Regions from separate parts of the Homo sapiens genome. Here region 1 is linked to region 2. The links are contacts of gene promoters, found by promoter capture Hi-C in human tissues and cell types (Jung and others, 2019). All regions are on one chromosome and are shown on one strand. The core of a region is centred on a gene start or on the middle of the fragment in contact, and the rest is flanking DNA. Distances in the headings are between cores, read along the strand shown. Region 1 has its middle 41 kb from the start of PRL. Region 2 holds the start of PRL (prolactin).

Region 1 (4,957 bases), core at 1,889-4,388, 41 kb before region 2:
AAGCTCAGTTCTCACCTTTGGTAATAACTTTCCAACTTTCAACAGTATAGAGAAAATCCAAGGCATTTTTCAGCATAACTTCCTACTTTCCTGTAGCCTGTGGTGCTAAGTCTTGAACAGTTTCACAGAAGTAGGGGTGAATTTTGGTGAATTAAATTTGTTTTTCCAAAATTAAAGAAGATGGCTAACAATGATCTACATCTATTATCTCTAAAACATATATTATGTTTTCTTCAGAAGCATATTTAAAGGTAACTTTTGTGGTTGATTACCAGCGGGCATAGGGCAGGGGGTTCATCAGGAGAGTCTAGAGCAGGGGTGTCCAATCTTTTGGCTTCCCTGGGCCACACTGGAAGAAGAATTGTCTTGGGCCACACATAACATACACTAGCACTAACAATAACTAATTAGCTAAAAAGTAATACTCACAAATAAATCTTATATAATGTTTTAACAAAGTTTATGAATTTGTGTTGAGCCACATTCAAAGCCATCCTTGGCCGCATGCAGCCTGTGGGCAGGTTGAATAAGCTAGGAGACTCTAGAGAACTATATCTTTTGCTACCCGGGGCCAACTGCTGCCCATTGGGTAAATATTACAATCTATATACTCTCTTCCTCTTCCCTCATCTTGTCAGTAAAATTTCTCAAGCCATCAAATTGTCCAGAGCTACATGGGCATAGATTCTTATATCAATAAATATAGGTAGAATGTGAATATGAATCACCACAGTGACCCATATGGCCAAAGTCTCTCTCTGATTTCTATGGTATTTCTATAACCAGTACCCTAGGAATACCTATATAATCCTGAAGTATAAACCTGAGGTTCCTTCCCTTCTCACAAACTCCTCACAGTGAACACACTGCGGGGAGTGGTGGTGTTCATGCAATTCGCTCTTCATTCTTCCTCACTGTTGGCTTGACCACTATCTTGCCTCACTCTCTTCTTTGCCCCAAGGTTCAGTGCAATTGAGAGCGTCATTGTGTCCTAGCCTGAGTCCTAGGACTTGAAACAGTTTCAGTATTCTGGCAAAGCCTGGTACCATAGAGTAAAGCAAATCAGATTTCTCTAGAGACATGATCATAAAGTAACAGTAACAGAATCTGAATCAACAGAGTAACATAATAGGCAAATCCTGTTGTTGTTGTTGTTGTTGTTGTTGTTGTTGTTGTTGTTGTTGTTGTTGTTTTTGAGATGGAGTCTTGCTCAGTTGCCCAGGCTGGAGTGCAGTGACGCCATCTCTGCTCACTGCAAGCTCTGCCTCCCAGGTTCACGCCATTCTCCTGCCTCAGCCTCCCAGGTAGCTGGGACTACACGTGCCCGCCACTACGCGCGGCTAATTTTTTGTATTTTTAGTAGAGACGGGGTTTCACCGCGTTAGCCAGGATGGTCTCGATCTCCTGACCTCGTGATCCACCCACCTGGGCCTCCCAAAGTGCTGGGATTACAGGCATGAGCCACCGCGCCCGGCCCTGTTGTTTTCAATGCTTCAAATTTCTTACTGCTTTTCTTCTCGGTAATTTCATTGGATGTGGAAAAACAATTTAAGAAATTAGTATTTATCACTGTTTATAAAAATAAGAACAAACAAATCTAAAATAATACTGTCCAAAAAGGGAAAAAACAGATGAGACCCTTGTCAATTTTTAATTGGCAATGCAAAGAGTGTCACACTAATAAAACTGAATTAAATCATTAAATATTTAAAATGATTTTCTAACTGTAGTTTCTTGAATGAATACCCTTTTATATATTCGAAACTCTATTATGAAGTCTACATGTAAAGCAACATCAAATGTTAAACCAAACAATTTGATGTATTCATCTCAGTCAAAAAGCCCAGTTCATTTGTCCCGTAGAAATCTAAATCACCTCAGAACATGTCACAATGTATATTTCCCTCACATCAGGAAACATATAATAAAATACCATTACAAATACATCACCCACAAAGTAGTCCTACCTTATAAAATATAACTCATTCATTTTACATGTTTCATTTCATTTCAGTAATAATGTAAAATAGCATTGCCCAATTTACGATGAATGTCAAATTTCTGGTAGAAGACGTAACAGATATTTACTAACTTCATTTTTTGTATCACTCAAACAACCAACTATATACATAAATATATGTCTTCAGCCTTCTTCAAACAAATATTTCTTATGGCAAGGAAAAGCTATTTTCCTGTATAGCAAAGGCAGAATTAGACACACAATTACTTCCTTTACTAAAAGATACAATATATCAGTCTGTTGTTATACAGATTTGAATTTATCTTTTGGGTAATACATCTCCTCTTAAATAACACTACATATATTAACTTAATGGTATTGAGCTACCAAAGCAATAGTACCAATAAATAAAGACATACAAAAAACACAAGTATTCTCCTGGGTTGTTTTACCCTGCCCAAATCAAAGGGGAAGCTCATCTGTTTGCAGCTACGCTAAAAATCACATTAGGCAGCTTTAACAGGAAGCAGGAATCATAGCTCTTGATGAACCTGTAATTTTGATAAGTATGGAGATCTTTCTCTCTTGAAAATGCTTCAAACTCTTTAGTCTGGAAACAGACACGCGAGAACTTGCAAAGCACTCTACCTCGCCTCTCTCTGACCTGTCTAGTGTTCCTGTCTCACCATATAGTTCATTGCCCAAATCACAAACTCTACTAATTTTTTTTCTTCCTTTCCCTTACAATCATCCAAATCTGGCAATTCTACCAACACATCTTTTGTATCTATCCACATCATGAGCTGCCATGCCTGGACTTCGCAAGAGCCCCCTGTCTTCTCTCCCTTGGTTTGCCTTTCTTTAGGTTGCATTACACTTTCAGACTACGTCAGAGCTTGTTTTAAACCTGTCTTTTCTCAATCTTCTCAATACCCAATACTCTTTTGAGCTCTCATAAAGGAAAAGCAATGAAGATCTCTGAAAGAAGGAAGATTATCCAAGCAGACAAAATCCTGCTTCAGTGAAACACTCTTATAAATGTACACTTAAAGCAGCTGCTTCACCTTTAAAATGAATAACTGACATGCAAGAAAAACTATACATCACCTTTAAAATGAATAATTGACATGCAAGAGGAACTATACACAGTTTTCTTCTTTTTTATTTTAGCAGAAACAGTAGTTACACCTAAGGCAATGATAGTTGAGATGTCCGGTTTTTAACAGAAAAACTCATAGTCTGTAACTATGTTAGTCTGTGCTTTTCTAGGGGAAAAAAACGTTGCTTTCATATTCCTCCTAAAAATTTTCCTCACTTCCAACCTCCTTAAAAGTTTACCATTCTTTAAGAAAATAACTCAAAGTCATCAACATGTCACATCAGTCCCTTCTCAATCTAACCCTAAATTATTTTATACACCCCAACCACATACCCCATGCTCCAGGCAAAATGGGCTAAAAGGAACTTTGAACTTTCAGCGGCTCTCTGGACAAAGCTTACTCACCCATCTCCATGTTTTTGACATGCCATTCCTATACTTCTAAAACTGCTCAGTTATGCAGGCATTTCTTGGACTTTGCTTCCAGAAAATAAGGACATATGTTTAAAACCCTAGAATTATATTTTACAACCAAACAGACCTACCAAATAAAGAAGCATTTTCAGATAGAGAAACGGGTTAAAAGGGAAGGTTATAAAATAATGAAAAATTCAAGTGCACTATTTCAAAATTGTAAGGGGATTTTTAATCCTCCAATTTTATAACTGAAAATATTGATTTTAAATGTACATTATTGTCTCTTGCCTTTTAGACATCTACACTGAATTTTAGAAAGAAACAACATGCCAAGCACAGTGGTTCTCACCTGTTATCCCAGCACTTTAGGAGGCAGAAGTGGGAGGATCACTTGAGGCCAAGAGCTCACACTCAGCATGGAAAACGTAGTGAGAACTCCGTCTCTATAAAAAAAATTAAAAATTAGCTGAGTATCATGGTGCATGTCTGTAGTCCAACCTACTCTGGCGGCTAAGATGGAAGGATCATTTGAGGCCAAGAATCTGAGGTTACAGTGAGCTATGATCACACTACTGCACTCCAGCTTGGGCAACAGAGTGAGACACTATCTCTAAAAAAGAGAAAAAGAGAAACAACGACATTGGTATTTACTGTAAATAACATCTTAGGTGGTGTTGTGCGTGTGTTTTCTTTTTTAACTTATCCTTTTTCTTTCTCTAGGAAGAAATTTTACTGCAATAAAGAAAAAGGAATAGATGATATTCTGTCATTGTATAAGTTTATTGTCCAAGAATAACCCCTCAACAAGTAACCATTATAAGTGTATTGTTCAAGAATATTATTTTCATAAAATATATTTTCTAAATACATACAAATAGCAGATTTTTCTAAAAAACTATCTGTATTCTCTTCTCCGATCTTTTAATCCAATAAATTGGAGCAAACTACTAAAAGACTTTCCAGAAATATGTTTTTCAATGAAAACTTTTTTTGAAATTTATTTTTTTTTGAGACAGCCTCACCCTGTCACCCAGGCTGGAGTGCAGTGGTACCACCTCAGCTCACTGCAACCTCCACCTCCTGGGTTCCAGAGATTCTCCTGCCTCAGCCTCCCGAGTAGGATTACAGGCATGCGCCACCATGACCGGCTAATTTTTGTATTTTTAGTAGAGATGGGGTTTCACCATGTTGGCCAGGCTGGTCTTGAACACCTGACGTCAAGTTGTCTGCCTGCCTCAGCCTCCCAAAGTGCTGGAATTATAGGCATGAGCCACCATGCCAGGCCAAAATTTCTTGGTATTATAACATGGAAGATGAGGCTTTAGTTGTTCTAGTCATAGGTGGCATTCTGTATGTTTTAGTGACTGGCTGGCTATCAATACAGCCTATCTTTCCAGGGAAAACACTTTTATACCAATATTGGGGGCGGGGAGAATGTTTGAATGGCTTATTGAAGAATAATGCTTAAAAAATTAAGTACC
Region 2 (5,391 bases), core at 1,963-4,462:
ACAATATGTATGAAGTTAATCTAAATAGTAGGATGTAATTAAGTCATTGCATTTTGCTTATTCTAAAAATAGTGCCATTCAAAAAAAACCACTATTGATCTCTTCTCCAATGTGCCCTTTACATTGTCTAATATTTTATATTGAAAACAGCACACGTCCTATTTAATTTTTTAGTCATTAGAAGACGACTATTCAGAATTTTTCAATTCATAGACAATACTCCTTTAATCATTTCATATTTCATTTTATTTAAGACAATTCACTACTAATATAAATTGAAATATCTTTGTGATACATTCATTCTGAGGATTTTTTTAACTCTTAATTTCTTTCACTCTTTAATATCCCTTAGCATATTTTGCAGTAGACACCTCCTAGGTTATGTGAAGAAATTTTTTTTTGTTTTTTTGAGATGGAGTCTCCCTCTGTCACCCAGGCTGGAGTGCAGTGGCGTGAACTTGGCTCACTGCAACCTCTGCCTCCTGGGTTCAAGCGATTCTCCTGCCTCAGCCTCCTGAGTAGCTGGGACTACAGGCGCCTGCCACCACGCCTAGCTAATTTTTGTATTTTTAGTAGATACAGGGTTTCACCATATTGATCAGACTGGTGTCGAACTCCTGATCTCTTGATCCTCCTGCCTCAGCCTCCCAAAGTGCTGGGATTACAGGCGTGAGCCACTGCGCCCGCCCTGTGAAGGATTTTAAATATACTTTGCTTCATACGTGACAGAAGAAAAAACAAAATTATTCCAAACTTAAAAACAGATAAACAAAAGAAAATACAAACTTTGTTCTAAATTAGGAATAAAAACCAACCTGATGTTACTTAATGTTAAAAACTAGCGTTCTTTAGAAAAGATGGCAACCTTGTTTATTAGTTTCAGGTACTAAACATAGCATGGGAACTTTAGCATCATTTGAGCTATTTATTCAGCTACTTGACATAAATCAATCATCACCCCTCAGTTGCATCACAAGCTCTCAGACCAAAAATGGCAAACAAATGAAGTTTTGTAAAGTTTTAAAATGTACAACCCTATTCTTACTGAACTTCTTTATTGTTTTAAATTAAGGGCACAGTTTGATAAAGAGAAAGCCTGGCAAGAAAGCACATATAAAAATTAAGGTGAAAGGGGGTAACATGCATAGCAGTTAGAAGAATTAGGACAACTATGATTTTTGCATAATATATGTCTTTGCATTATTTATATATTTCAATATTCCATTCACAGGAAATGTGGGGCTATGGAGCAGCAAGGAGACACACAATAAATTTTACAGAGAAACCTGTACCTCTTTGCAGTCAAATAAATCGACTGACAGACCCTGAATAAACACAGCTTAGGTTTTCTTAGATTGCTCTTATCCTGGCTATCCAAGAATGTTGCAACACCTTTAAATTTTAAGATTAAGTTGTCATTGTCAGTTCTTATAACAGATTTTCTTACTCTTAAGTTTATGGGAGAGGAGGAGAATATAGGATAATGTTAATTTCTCTGCCACACAGCTCTGCTTTCTTAATAATTCAGACTCTCTCCATCCAGGGAAAAAATGAATACCTAATGTGAGTATATGGAATCCTGACCCAGCTTTCAGATTGAGAGAGTCTATGAATCATCACATTTGATGTTTATGATTCAAAATGTAGGATTGCCTTAAACTAAGGCAATTAGGAAGATAGTTTTTCAGAGACGTTAGTCTTTGTTAAGATTTCTAGGTCCCCATAAGAGCACTTAGTCAGATAATTGCTAAAGCACATATGTGGCTCTAGGAACTAAGGAAAAAGTAAATGCCATAGGAAGACTATTTTTTAAATTACCTCATTCATCAGTCTATTGTAAGAGACAGCAAATTTGAAACTAAAGGTCACAGGCTGCTTTAGATGCATGGACTTAAAAATTAGAGAAAGTCATCAATAAAACTTAGTTCTTATTCATTATAGTCATTTCATTTAGGAAATTTCCAAAAGGTGAATGGAATTTTTAAGCCCATGAAAGATGAATTTTTGTCACCTTGGCCTCAGAGTGGCTCAGGGTCAGAGAAGGTAGAGAGATCATAAGTTAATAACAGTTTACACACTGCTATCCTTGAAAAGAGTGGAAATTACTGGCTAGAATTTCAGTTTATTACATGGTATACCAGAATGATGGGTGTAAGTGTGTCTGTGTGTGTGCACACACATGTGTGTTTGCCCTGGAAAACTACTGCATCACTTCCCCAAAATAAACTCTTAAATCAGGGGTTATAGCTTGTTTGTCTTAGAAGTGGGTCCACAGGATGTTTACAAGAGAATTCATTTCCCAGCCTTCCTCATATGACTCCTGATTTTCCGTGAAGTAATAATTGTTCCTTCATTTAACTCAACTATAGAATTATTAGGCTGGTGCGCAAGTGACTGCAGTTTTTACCATTTAAAAGTAAAGCCCAAAACCTCAATTACTTTTGCACTGAACTACTTCTTTCATATTCTTTACCTTTAGTCTCTCCAAGCTTCTGTTTCTTCATCTGTAAACTGGAGAGAATAATACCACTTAACACATATGTTAAAATCAAAAGAAATAAACAGATGAAGATGTACATTCAAAGTACCATACAGATACGCTATTTTTAAAAAGACAAAACACATGTATTTTTAAAAAGACAAAACAAAATGTGTATTTCAAAAAGATAAAACAAAATGTAAAAAGCAACAAAATGAAGGAAATTTAATGACAGTGTAACAGGGGACTGAAAATCCTGATTTCTCAATCCTTATTCTATATCTCTTGGTATTTAGTGTAAAAATTTTAAAATCTTTACCTAGCAATCTTGAGGAAGAAACTTGATAACTGATAATACATGAGATTGTTACCTAAGTGAAATATAATCCTATATATTCAACAAACTTTAGAGAAATAAGATAAATTTTAAAGTAAATGACTTCTGTAGTTTTATAGATCCTCCAAACCAATCTAGTCTCAGATCTCACCTTCATCATTTCTCTCATTTCCTTTTGGCCTAATTAATCAAAATCCTTCCTAGAATGTTCATTTCTGGCCAGTATGTCTTCCTGAATATGAATAAGAAATAAAATACCATTTGATGTTTGAAATTATGGGGGTAATCTCAATGACGGAAATAGATGACCAGGAAAAGGGAAACGAATGCCTGATTCATTATATTCATGAAGATATCAAAGGTTTATAAAGCCAATATCTGGGAAAGAGAAAACCGTGAGACTTCCAGATCTTCTCTGGTGAAGTGTGTTTCCTGCAACGATCACGAACATGAACATCAAAGGATCGCCATGGAAAGGTATGTGTGACAACTCACTGCGTTGTTGGTTGTATCAACACTCCTGTGGGGGGATTAATGTGAAATTTTAACTAATAACAAGAGCTTGCAGGTTTACAAGGTTTAGAAGCACAATCTTATGTTTCCTCTAGAAAGCAATTTTACAAGGGCACCATAGAACAGAACAATGGTTCTCAAACAGGGGAATCCTCTCTCAGAGGCATTTGGCAATGTCGGGAGATGTTTTGGGTTGTCTTAACTGAGGTGGGGAAGTGAGGGAAAAGTGCTATTGGTATCTAATGGATAGTGATGAGAGATGCTACTGAACATCCTTCAATGCACGGGACAGCCCCCAGAACAAGGAATTATTCAACTCAAAATGCCAATAATATCAAGATTGAGAAACTCTGGACTAGAATAAGACTCAAAGAGTCTGTGGGTCCAATTTGCCACAACTCTCAAAGGGACAAAGTAACATTTTCTGGTTATCAGGCCTCTAATGTGGATTGGCCAACTTGAATCAACCTGATGAAACTTTCAATTGTGAAGCCATAAAATAGACACTAACAACAGAATTGTCTTTCCTATTCTTTGTCAATTTGGTTCAAGCCAAATGACATTTCAAAAGGAAAAACAGACTGCCTAGTAATAACTAATCACCTTTACTTTCTTGGTTGACATTTGCAAGGAAAATAAATTAGTAACAACCATAAAATGTGTTTCTAATTAAATGAAGAACAAAAACATGTGTCTATTTTATCTCGTTTTGGGCTTTAAAAATCCTTTCCATGCTAAATGTGCAGATAAATGTACTCAGAGTTACAGAACATCTATCCAGTTGTGAATTTCCTAGACCTGCTATTCCAATTCCTCTATCTACAAAGCACATTTTATTTACACATACAGATAAAATATACATTTGGTTTCGTCATATGATTATAGTATGCATAAAATAAACTTTTTGGAAGAATCATGTTTTTGAAAAATTAAAAGTCTATAATAGGAATCATCTCAAACAAAAATTTTATTTTACAACTAACAGATTTAGTCACTTCCTACACTAAGCAATTTTTTAGGTATTTTTAAGTGTTTAGGTTTAGGTACTTTTTCACAAACTAAACTTTAGCATTTGCCTAGTTTTATCTTGGGCATTTCTGATTGCATTTCTTAAAGGTTTTGAAGGACTTAAGTTTTGTGATAAACACAGTTTTATATTGGGCATTCTTTTGGGGTAATGCCACTGAAGTTAACAAGTGATTTTAATTTGGTAGCTATCTATCGTTTCTTTCCTTTTGAAAGTATAAATTATTGATATATATAGGACTGTAACTGTCCATTTGCTGAGATAGCAAATTGATGACAAAGCTTTGAAAACCTTCAGCAAAGATCAGAGTGTTTTGTAATTAGAGCAGGAAAAGTGGAGAAAATCAAGCTTTCTGGGGCCTCTGTTGTGATGTAATCAATCAAAGGCAAAGAACTTGTTATTCTTTAAAAGTGACAGCAACAACCTATGTAAACACTGAGCCATCACGGCTACTCATGCGGCCCCCATTACACAGATGCAGATTGACAGCCCACAGGTGTACGCGATGTGACAAGACGACGTGCAAAGACCACAGTATTGGCATCATGCCTCTCTCACCCACTAATGATACGACTTGGGGAAAATCACTTAACCTCCCTAAGCCATCTGTTTCATCAGTATAATTTGATGATAATTACAAAGGCCCAGTGTATCTCACAAGGTTATTATGAAGCTCAAATATAAAAAAAATTTAATGTTTTTGGCGAAGTGTCAAACACATGCATGGGACTATTACGAGTTAGCAGATCTAAACTACAGCATTATTTTTATGTTAGAATTCTTTTCAAACTCAGTATTAGCAATCAAACAATCGTGTGTTTATTCTTATCAGGCAGGATGATAAATCGAAAGGATCGACTGTACTGTTTTTGTTATATCAGTGTCTACAATGTAAATTATCAGACACACCTAGTTAAAAAAAAAATTACAAAGTGCTGGGCAGCCTGACTGCTGAAAATCTGCAGAAACTCCCAAGACATTAAACTATCTTAAGAGAATGATCCAAACACCCTAGCTCAGAATTAATTTAAGCTC

The links. Contacts are between HindIII fragments. The study calls those that stand out against the background at their distance.
Region 1: a fragment that was not itself captured here is called in contact with the fragment with the promoter of PRL in region 2 in 1 of the 25 tissues and cell types used here (hippocampus).

Annotation. Positions count from the first base shown.
Region 1 is chr6:22,335,811-22,340,767 of GRCh38, reverse strand. No RefSeq gene overlaps it. Among named protein-coding and RNA genes, the nearest start is that of PRL, 41 kb to the right of the region's middle. The HindIII fragment of the contact is 5,085 bases long and covers 596-4,957 here.
Region 2 is chr6:22,294,857-22,300,247 of GRCh38, reverse strand. PRL (prolactin) reads left to right here and starts at 3,212. Exons shown (of 5, transcript NM_000948.6): 1 at 3,212-3,293. The coding sequence starts at 3,266. The HindIII fragment of the contact is 8,347 bases long and covers 458-5,391 here.